Regions from separate parts of the Homo sapiens genome. Here region 2 is linked to region 1. Evidence: promoter capture Hi-C in human tissues and cell types (Jung and others, 2019). All regions are on one chromosome and are shown on one strand. Each heading gives the region's core, a stretch centred on a gene start or on the middle of the fragment in contact. The rest is flanking DNA. Distances are from core to core; before and after follow the strand shown. Region 1 holds the start of FERD3L (Fer3 like bHLH transcription factor). Region 2 overlaps LOC105375179 (a long non-coding RNA gene).

Region 1 (4,718 bases), core at 1,043-3,542:
GGAGGGAGGGAGAGAGGAAGGAAGGAAAGAAAGAAGGAAGGAAGGAAGGAAGGAAGGCAAGCAAGAAAGGTACATTGCCTTGGCTAAAATCATAAAGGAGTTCAGTCCAATGAAACTATCTCTTTAGTCTCATGAAGGCTTCTGACCCCCATTTTATGAAATTTTAAATTTAAATATCAACCATGTTTTCCTTCATTGTTTTCCAGTGTATTATATTGCGAAACTAGATTCTCAATTGACTGAGGTGTTTAATCCACTTGCAAATAGATTGTAAATGAATACAAAATAAGTCACTGAGAAGCATTTAACATAATTTAAAAATCAACAAGAAATTTGTCCAAATATTTAATAACATATTAATTTAAACGAGGGTTAGCAAGCATGTTACTACTTTTTTGAAACAAAAATCAGTTCTCCCATTTACTAGCTTCATAGCCACTGTTGACAATCCTATTATTTATTTTTCAGCCTTCCCTTTGAAAGATGCTTAGCAAAAATCAACTAAGTAACAACCAAAGATCTCATTCTCTTTAACATCTTCCAGGATCACAAATTTCAATTATTCTCTGCCTGAGTTATCACAATTCAAACTGGAGAATGAAGAGTAAACACAAGCAAAAGAAGATAAAATCTATTAAAAGATCGAGAGACACCAGACACAAATGGGTTAAAAGAAGAAGAAGAATTAAAGGTTATACTGTTTTGATTACACACATAGAGGCTAGGAAGAAGAAAATGAATTGAGATTACCTGTTAGAAATAGGCGGTTTCTGGTTTCTGGGAGCTGTCCAATGTACTGAGTGAACCATCATAACCACAACTTACCCCCTTAATAGGGACTGACGTCCTGGGCAGTTCTCTTTTGAACCGGGATGTTTCTACATTCATCTTTTTAGGCTATTTCTTCCAATCTACCTTTAAAATTATCTTCTAATCTGTCACTTTGACACAATGGGTCTTTTAAATAAATCTTTACACAGTACTGAATAATTAAGTAAATATAGTTATTGGCAAACAAAGAAAAAGAACCTTTTTGTTAAAATATTTGGGATACTCGAGATAATATAAAATGAGTAATCTCTTATTTTTCTTATGCCAAATTTAAAATCTCTTTCTTTTCTCAAAAATAACGATCTAACGATAGCCAAAAACTCCCTTAAATATATTTCAATAAATCATTGTTTCTGCACTTAAGTCTTACTGTAGGACAATACAAATCAATGAGGAAAATACGCCAGATGGAAGTGTTAGGTTTTTTTCTTTGTTCGGGAACAAATACTCGATCCGCAATTTAAAAGTCCGAAGACTCCTCAGCAGAGGGTGAGCTGATTGACTCTTTGGCTTATCAAGGGCAAATCGCATTTCTGAAAAGAGCTTGAAGTGGTTTTGTTTGTGAGGAGAGTTTGCTTTGTCCCCCACACTGAAAAGTATACAGCAAAGCCCGAGCATAGAAAATATCCTGAGCTTAAATTTCTCATTTTATTGCCATCATAACTTTTCCTCTTGGAATAAAATCCTCTATTTTATATGAGTAGGAGGTAAAGGTAGGGAAAGGAAAGTCAAGTATCTCAATTGTTACGCTGATTGCATCCAAACAGACTTTAGAAGTCAGGGTTTGTAACGTGGCAGGAGAGCTGTTTGCGATGCCCTGGAAAGAAAAGAAAGCCGGTTCCAACAGCGACTCTGGGGAATGCACTCTCGGTCCCCCTGCCATGCTTACTTAAGCTAATTGAAGGTCTTGCCTTTCAGCAGCCGCTGCACTGGGATACCAGACAAACAGCTCCCCTTGATGCCAGGCAGGCAGGGCCCCTCTTCAGGACATCATTAAAAGCACATGCACTTGCTCCACATCCATTGGCAGATGGTGGCAAGATTCAAGACTCCTACCCTGAAGTCAAGGAGAAGCCATCGCGGTGGAAAACATCCTCGCTTTGAAAATCCAACACGAAATTAAAGAACTACACGAGATAAGGAGCCTGGAGAACATTAGTTGGCTGCAGGGGTGAAGACAGACACAAAAAGCACAGCAGGTAAGAGCTGGGGGTTGTTGCCAACAAGGAACTGTCCCGGGTGGCGCAGAGAAAAGGATCTCAGAACTGGAGCCCTGTCCCTTTGAGTCTTCCATGCGTGCTCAAGCTTGTCATCTTCCATAAGCTTCGAGAGAAGGGACGTTGTCAGAGCATTCCTTATCGGTGCGACTAATCCTGTTATCAGCTTGGTTATAAATATTTAATGTTCCCTGGCCTTTCGGTGATGGTGCCCCATCAGATTCAAGGCTGTTAAGAATCCCCACCAGCAACCTCGCCCCTCCCTGCGGAAAACCGATGAGAGGCAGGGCCAAGCCGAAGCGATGGCGGCCTATCCGGAGAGCTGCGTGGACACTACGGTGCTGGACTTCGTCGCAGACCTGTCCCTGGCCTCCCCGAGACGCCCTCTCCTCTGCGACTTCGCACCCGGGGTCTCCTTGGGGGACCCAGCCCTTGCGCTCCGAGAGGGAAGACCCAGGAGGATGGCGCGGTTTGAAGAGGGGGACCCAGAAGAAGAGGAGTGCGAAGTGGACCAGGGGGACGGAGAAGAGGAGGAGGAAGAGGAGCGCGGAAGAGGTGTCTCCCTATTAGGCCGCCCCAAGAGGAAAAGGGTGATCACCTACGCCCAGCGCCAGGCCGCCAACATCCGCGAAAGGAAGCGGATGTTCAACCTCAACGAGGCCTTTGACCAGCTGCGGAGGAAGGTGCCCACGTTTGCTTACGAGAAAAGGCTGTCCCGGATCGAGACCCTCCGCCTGGCCATCGTCTATATCTCCTTCATGACCGAGCTCTTGGAGAGCTGTGAGAAGAAGGAAAGCGGCTGAGCCTGGTGTGGAGAGTCTGCCCTTCCTCGTCTGGTAGTGCTGGGGTGTGTCAGGACCGGGCACTGGGTGAGGCTAAAGGGCCGGGAGGGAGGCCCCAAGACAGAACGTCTGGTCTTCTGGAGGTCGGGGTCGAGATTGTAAGATCCCCACATGCGCTGAGCAGAGTGGCTGCTGTAGAGTTCATATCTACGCGACCGCCCTAAGTGAAGTCGGGGTCAGGGGCGAGCGGGGAAGTCAGAGAGCGTGAGGCTGAGTCGGGGCCGTTCAGGCTGCTCCTAAGAGCTTCCGTGGGCTGGGTGGGTGGGAAGTGAACCCTCCTCGCAAATGGCAGACTTTGGAGCTTCTATAAAATCTAACCTCTCTTCTTTACATTTTTTTTTTCATAGAGATAATAAAGTAGAAATTCTTACGTTTTTAAAAAGCCTGAAGGGTCGGTGGTACGCCATCCCCAGCAGGCGCTCCAGCGGGCGCCTGCGTGGAGGGTCTGAAGCAGACGCCGCAAGGGTGCGGGGGTGCGAGCTTTTCTGCTAGCCAGAGGGTTCTGCCTGGTCCTCCGAGGCTTGTCCAGGAACTGAGGAAAGGAAAAATGGAAGGCAGAGCAGTCGAGAGGAACTGCTGACAAAGTGCGACCTCTGAGAAGGGACACCCTTCCTGTCTTCCATTCCCTCTCCCTCCCGTCCCTTCCTCTCTCCCGCGCGCAAGCCCTCTCTCTTCCTTTCTCCCTCCCCTTCGCCACCTAGTTGATCCCAGACGGACCACAGCTCCTTGTCCCAGGGCCACAGTGGTGTTCATTCAGTGCCTTAGCCAGAGTGCAAATCTACGCTTTGCATCTAAAGTGCAGCATCAGCTTCCGTGTTCCAGTGCCTTCTTCAGGCCCCAGGCCAGAGTAAGGGGCGAGTGCACTCGGGTCACTCCTGGGCCGCAGGGGGCCTTGGGCGCCCTGCAGCTTCGCCACCAGCCACCGCTACCAACTGTCCCCGGCCAGGGGTTGGGGTATGAAGGGGCCTGGATCTTTCTAGGAGCAGGGCCGCCTGAGCGCGCTCACTTTTACATTTTTAGCTGTAGGTAGGAAAGATAGCTTTCACTCTAATGGCTTCTAGAGACTACCAGGGGAGACAAAAAGTCCAAAGAGGAGATGCCTTCTGACGCCTTGCAAAACGCCTGCCATGCAGATGAGGTTGAAGCGGGTCCATGCTGAGAGGCCGCCTCTAGTTTGGACCCGTGCCATTCCAGGATTCTTCCTTCTAGGTGACGTGCTAGTACCAGAACTGGGGTCTTTCAGAAAGGAGTGGGTAACTGAGGCGAGGAACCCGATTGAATAATGCCAACCTAAACATAAATTCAGTAATCCTAAAGGATAATCCCCAGTGATTATTCCAACACTTTATTTCGCCCCTCATTGCACACAGAAATAGGCGGGAGCCTGTGCGAACACACAATTCTCTTAATCATGCTTTCGGAAATAGAATTCATTTCATTAATAAGTAACATATACTCATCCTAGAAATTTTGGAAAAAAAAATTTCAAAAAAGAGAAAATTCGAATCACTCCACGTTACCATACTGTTAGCATTTTCATCTATTTCTTTCCAGTCTTTTTTTCCCTGTGCAGTTATAAATTCAATATATTTTACTAATTCGAGATACTTTGGGATACTGATATTTTTCCACTTGGCATTATAGAAGGTGCAATGTTTTCCCTTAACTTTAATATTATTCAAATGTGATTTTGATTACCATATCTTATTGTCTTATCCATGTATCACACCACCACCAGCCCTTTCCAGATAGATAGCTATTTCCTTTTTAAAAAATAAATGATGCTGCTAAGAGCATTCTTGTAAATGCCTTCTCTGTCTATTATTAC
Region 2 (4,876 bases), core at 1,371-3,870, 260 kb before region 1:
TCTTTGTGAAATGAAGAGTTACTGAAGAATGTATAAAATGATGTGGTATTCTAGGAATCGCTGGCTGCTCTAGTGAAAATAGGAAAGGAAATCAGGAGCAGAAAGCAGGGAGACCCACGATGAGGCTATTACAATAATCCAGGTGAGAGATGATGGTGGATCAGACTAGGATGGCGGCTGTAGAAATGAAGAAATGTGATTGGGTTCCAGATGTATTTTAAGTAAACTGCTGACAAGATGTCTTGATGGATTTGATATGAGGTATGAAAGAAAGAGGAATCGGGAATGATCCCAATAGTTTTGGTCTAAGCAACTGTAAAAATAAAATTACCATTGGCAGAGCTGAGTAAGACATAAGGAGAAGACGATTTGGAGTGATGGAAAATGTTAATAATTTACTTGTAGGCACATTAAGTTTGAGAGATGCCCATTTTACATCCAAAGGAAGATGGTGTGGGAGTAGTAGGATTTAAGATTTCAGAGTTCAGGAGAGAAGTTTAGGATGGAGATACAAATCCTGAAGCTGTAGGCATACATGTGGTATTACATCCCTTAGCAATGATTTAATAAGGGATTTAGTGTAGATAGAGAAAGGAGGAGGACCCATGATTAGGCTTCAGAGATGAGAAGGAAATAGCAAAAGGGAGTGAAGAGAAAATGGCTACAGTAATTGAAGAGTGTGGGTCTTAGCCAGAGATACATATGTTATAAAACGAGTGTTTCACGACAATGACAAAATCAGTATTGAGAATAACCACCAGAAATGTTAATGGTGAGGTCAGTGGCGGCCTTAGTAAGAGCAGTTTCAGGGGAAGTGGAAGAATTAAAGCTCCGTTAGGGTAAACTAGAGAGAAAATGGATGGAAAGCTGTAGACTAAGTATAGAAAGCTCTTTCAAGTACATTTCCTATCAAAGTAAGGAGAGAAAGAGATGCTCAAAGAGGGATGTGTCAGGAAATTTTAGTTTTTTTTAAGACAAAAAAAAAAAAACATGTTAGTATGCTGATAGAAAAAATCTAGTAGAAAAGCTAAACTTGATGATACAGGAGCAAAACAGAAATGCTGTCACGATGTTCCGGAGTAAGTCAGAGAGGTTGGGATATAGTGCACAAGTGATAGATTTGGCCTTTGTCAAGAGCACAATTTATCTAGTGAAATAGGAAAACCAGAGTAGAGGCCAAGATGCAGGTGGAGAAGGACGTAGTGGTGGAACAAATGGAAATTCTCTTCTGATAGATTTTATTTCCTTAGTAGAAAGGAAGGGGTCATCAGTTAAGATTGAGAATGGGAGATGAGGTGTTGGGGGTTTGGATGGAGAAGAAAAAGCATGGAGAGTCATCTAGAAGGGTAGGGATGGAAATGGGTTAGGGAAATAATTGCTATACTTCATTAACAGTCCAGCTGAGTTTGCTAATCATAAAATTAAAGTGTGACTATTTTTGTCTTTATTTTCCAGCCTCCTTCAGCTGCTTGGGTACATCCACAGAATTTACAGAGTTGGATTCAAGCCAAACTTTACACGTTCAAATGGTTAAAAATATTGACTTCACTTTTATTTTTCAGTTGTATCATCATGAAAAAGTGATACATATGAAATGTTCTTGATCATCAACAGTGCTAAATTACTCCAGTTCTAATCCCTAATTTCTTAAGCTGTACATAGATTTGCCTACGTAGATTGATTTAAATTGTTTCACAATATAGTATGTCTTTAAACCATGGGTCAGCAAATTTTTTTATAAAGGGCTCAATAGTCCACATATTAGGCGTTGTGGGCTATACGGTCTCTGTCAGGTATTCAATAGCTATTAATAAAATATTCAGATAAACTTAAAATTTGTGAAAACATCTACAAGGGTGCCTGGCATTAACAATGATAATTAGAACATTTTCCTTCAGTGGAATGCATAGTTGGAATCCTTGATGTCCAAGGGGTAATATACAAATCAACAGGATCAGCTTTACCTGGGAACTCATTAGAAATGCAGAATCACAGGCTTCACATCCTGTCTTATTAAAGAGTCTGCATTTTAAAAAGAGCCCTATGTGGTTGTATGCACATTAAAGTTTGAGAGCTTTAGTTCAGAAAGCAAGACTAGGATTTTCCATATGTGGAATCAAATAACCTGTAACAAATATCACAAAGTTAACAAAAACTGGAATAATATGAAGCAAAATGAGAGAAATAAGAAAAGAAGAAAAGAGGAAGGAATTCATTTCCTGATCAGATGTCCATCAAACAATAAATGGATAAATAAAATGTGGTATATCCATAAAATAGAAAATTATTCACCCATAGATGAATCTTGAAAATATTATGCCTAGTGAAAGAAGCCAGTCACAAATGGCCACACATTTTATTTCCAATTATATGAAATGTCCAGAATAGGCATATCCATAAAGACAGAAAATAGATTAGGAGTTGCCAGGAGCTAGAAAGAGGGAAGAATGGGAAGTGATGGCTAACGGGTATGGGGTTTCTTTTCTGGGTGACGAACATGTTCTGGAATGAGATAATGATAATGGTTGCACAACTCTGTGAATAAAAGCTAAAAACCACTGACATGTACACTTTAAAACAGTGAATATCATGGTATGCAAATTATATCCCAATTTTTAACATCCAAAGAATTGAAAAATGGAGACAATAATTTAAAAAGTGATGAAAGGTTTCCTTCCATGGCAATTTTGTGGCAATTGTGTTTAAAGAGTTCTAGAATTTCAGGAAGGAGAGATGAGCAGAGACTGCCGTTCCTATAAAACTGATTGAAACAAATATCTATAATCAGAAAGAGTTTTTCTTTAGACTTTAGGTGAGTTTGATAAGGATGAAAAACTGCAGAGAAATTGGTTTTCTAGTGTACCTAAAGTAACCTACCTTGGGCCAAGTTGGCAGGAAGGTTGCTGGCAACTACTCCTGAAAGAAAGAGAGGGAGGGAGACAGAATTTGCAAGTTTGGTATGTTACACTGAATGTAACTTGAGTATCTTCCTGTATTAACTAACACCACAGATCTCTGCCACCAACCCCACAACACCACACCCTGTAGCCACAAACAGCCTTCAGGTTTTTCCTCCCCGCCTTCATAACGGTCTTAAGCCCAACCACATAATCTGAATTGGAAGATTTAAGTTGTTTGTATATGCTCCAAAAGGAATCCCAACTGTTTGAGTGTTTCACATACTTCGGAGTCAGTAATCACACAGCCTGGGTGATGACTGAATGAGTCACACTGAGGAAAACACAGACTGAAGTTGAATCAGGACTACAATTTGCAGATGTGCCCTCACACCCACTCAAAATGGGAATCTCCACTTATTTAAAGCCTCTAACTGTAACTTAGTACCCATTCTCTTATACTGAAAATGTACAAAACCCACAGGTTTTCTGAGTTGAAAATTAGTTTTCAAATAAAGCTGAAAGTTAAGTAGCAAATTCTTTACATTTTGAAAAATATATATAAAGAGAGCAGTGAGTGCATTAGTTACTAATATTTAGCAAGCTGTGATTTTTAAGGTTTTTAAGGATAATTTTCATTTTAAAGTCAATAACACCAAGCTTATCTATTAAGGAGCAAATCTTATTTCTTCTTTTCCTGCACCCACAGTAAAATGATAGTGGTAGGACAGCGTATGATCACTTTCACAAGCAAAACCTAACTTCCTAAAAATTTCCATTTTGGGCTGGGCACGGTGGCTCACGCCTGTAATCCTAGCACTTTGGGAGGCCGAGGCGGGCGGATCAGGAGGTCAGGAGATCGAGAGCATCCTGGCTAACACGGTGAAACCCCGTCTCTACTAAAAAAAAAAAAGAAAAAATTAGCTGGGCTTGGCGGTGGACGCCTGTAATCCCAGCTACTCGGGAGGCTGACGCAGGTGAATGGCATGAACCCAGGAGGCAGAGCTTGCAGTGAGCCGAGATGGTGCCACTGCACTCCAGCCTGGGCAACAGAGCGAGACTCCATCTCAAAAAAAAAAATAAAAAATAAAAAAATTCCATTTTGGATTAACTCAATAATATAGTTAACTCATTTTGTAAGAATGAACGTAGGATGAGCAACGGTGACTTAGAAATAAAACAGATTATAGGCCAGGCGTGGTGGCTCATGCCTGTAATCCCAGCATTTTAGGAGGCTGACGCAGGCAGGATTGAGACCAGGGTTCAAGACCAGTCTGGGAAACATGAGGAAACCCTGTCTCTACAAAAAATATAAAAATTAGCTGGGCCTGGTGGCAAGCACATGTGGTCCTAGCTACTTGGGAGGCTAAAGTGGGAGGACTGCTTGAGCCCGGGAAGTCAAAGCTGCAGTGAGCCAAGATTGTGCTACTGCACTGCACTCTAGCCTAGATGACACAGCAAGCCCCTATCTCAAAAAATAAATAAATAAAAGATTATAATCTCTTAGGGAAATTCTGTTAAAGTCTCTTTTAGTCATAGGATGTTTACCATAGTTCAATAGCTTTAGAAGAAAAAGTTGCACTATACCTCTGTATATTCTTCTCGAGGGCTGGTTCTTATGTCAGTGAAGCAGTAAGTAAATGTTATCATCTCCAATGAAGAGAAGAGAAAGAGTAGATATTAAAGCTTAGAATATAAATCTAATGTGGAATGCCAAATAGATTTCATCATTTGAACCAAGAACTTAATGGTGGCTGCCTTGAACAAGGACTTGTGGAAGATTCTCAAGCTATGTCTAGTTCCCTAATCAATTAGATAAGTCTGCTACGAGCTTTAGAAGTGAAACGTGGGTAGAATTTCTATATGATATTTATTGCTCAGGTTATAATTTCAGTCCTGAATATATAATCCCTCTCAACCTCAGGTCACCATACTAAGTCAGGGTGAAAGCTCAGCCCTCAGTTAAAATGATTTTATGA

What was found. The method cuts DNA at HindIII sites, captures the fragments that hold promoters and counts their contacts. A contact is called where the count stands out against the background at its distance.
Region 2: a contact is called between a fragment that was not itself captured here and the fragment with the promoter of FERD3L in region 1, in 2 of the 25 tissues and cell types used here (H1 embryonic stem cells and mesenchymal stem cells).

The regions. Positions count from the first base shown.
Region 1 is chr7:19,142,995-19,147,712 of GRCh38, reverse strand. It overlaps FERD3L (Fer3 like bHLH transcription factor), which reads left to right and starts at 2,292. Exons shown (of 1, transcript NM_152898.2): 1 at 2,292-2,931. The coding sequence starts at 2,351. The coding sequence ends at 2,851. RefSeq lists enhancers at 1,246-1,894, 2,360-3,559. The HindIII fragment of the contact is 11,409 bases long and covers 1-4,718 here.
Region 2 is chr7:19,403,372-19,408,247 of GRCh38, reverse strand. It overlaps LOC105375179 (a long non-coding RNA gene), which reads right to left. Exons shown (of 6, transcript XR_007060244.1): 5 at 4,485-4,547; 6 at 2,345-2,916. Among named protein-coding and RNA genes, the nearest start is that of FERD3L, 260 kb to the right of the region's middle. The HindIII fragment of the contact is 4,859 bases long and covers 191-4,876 here.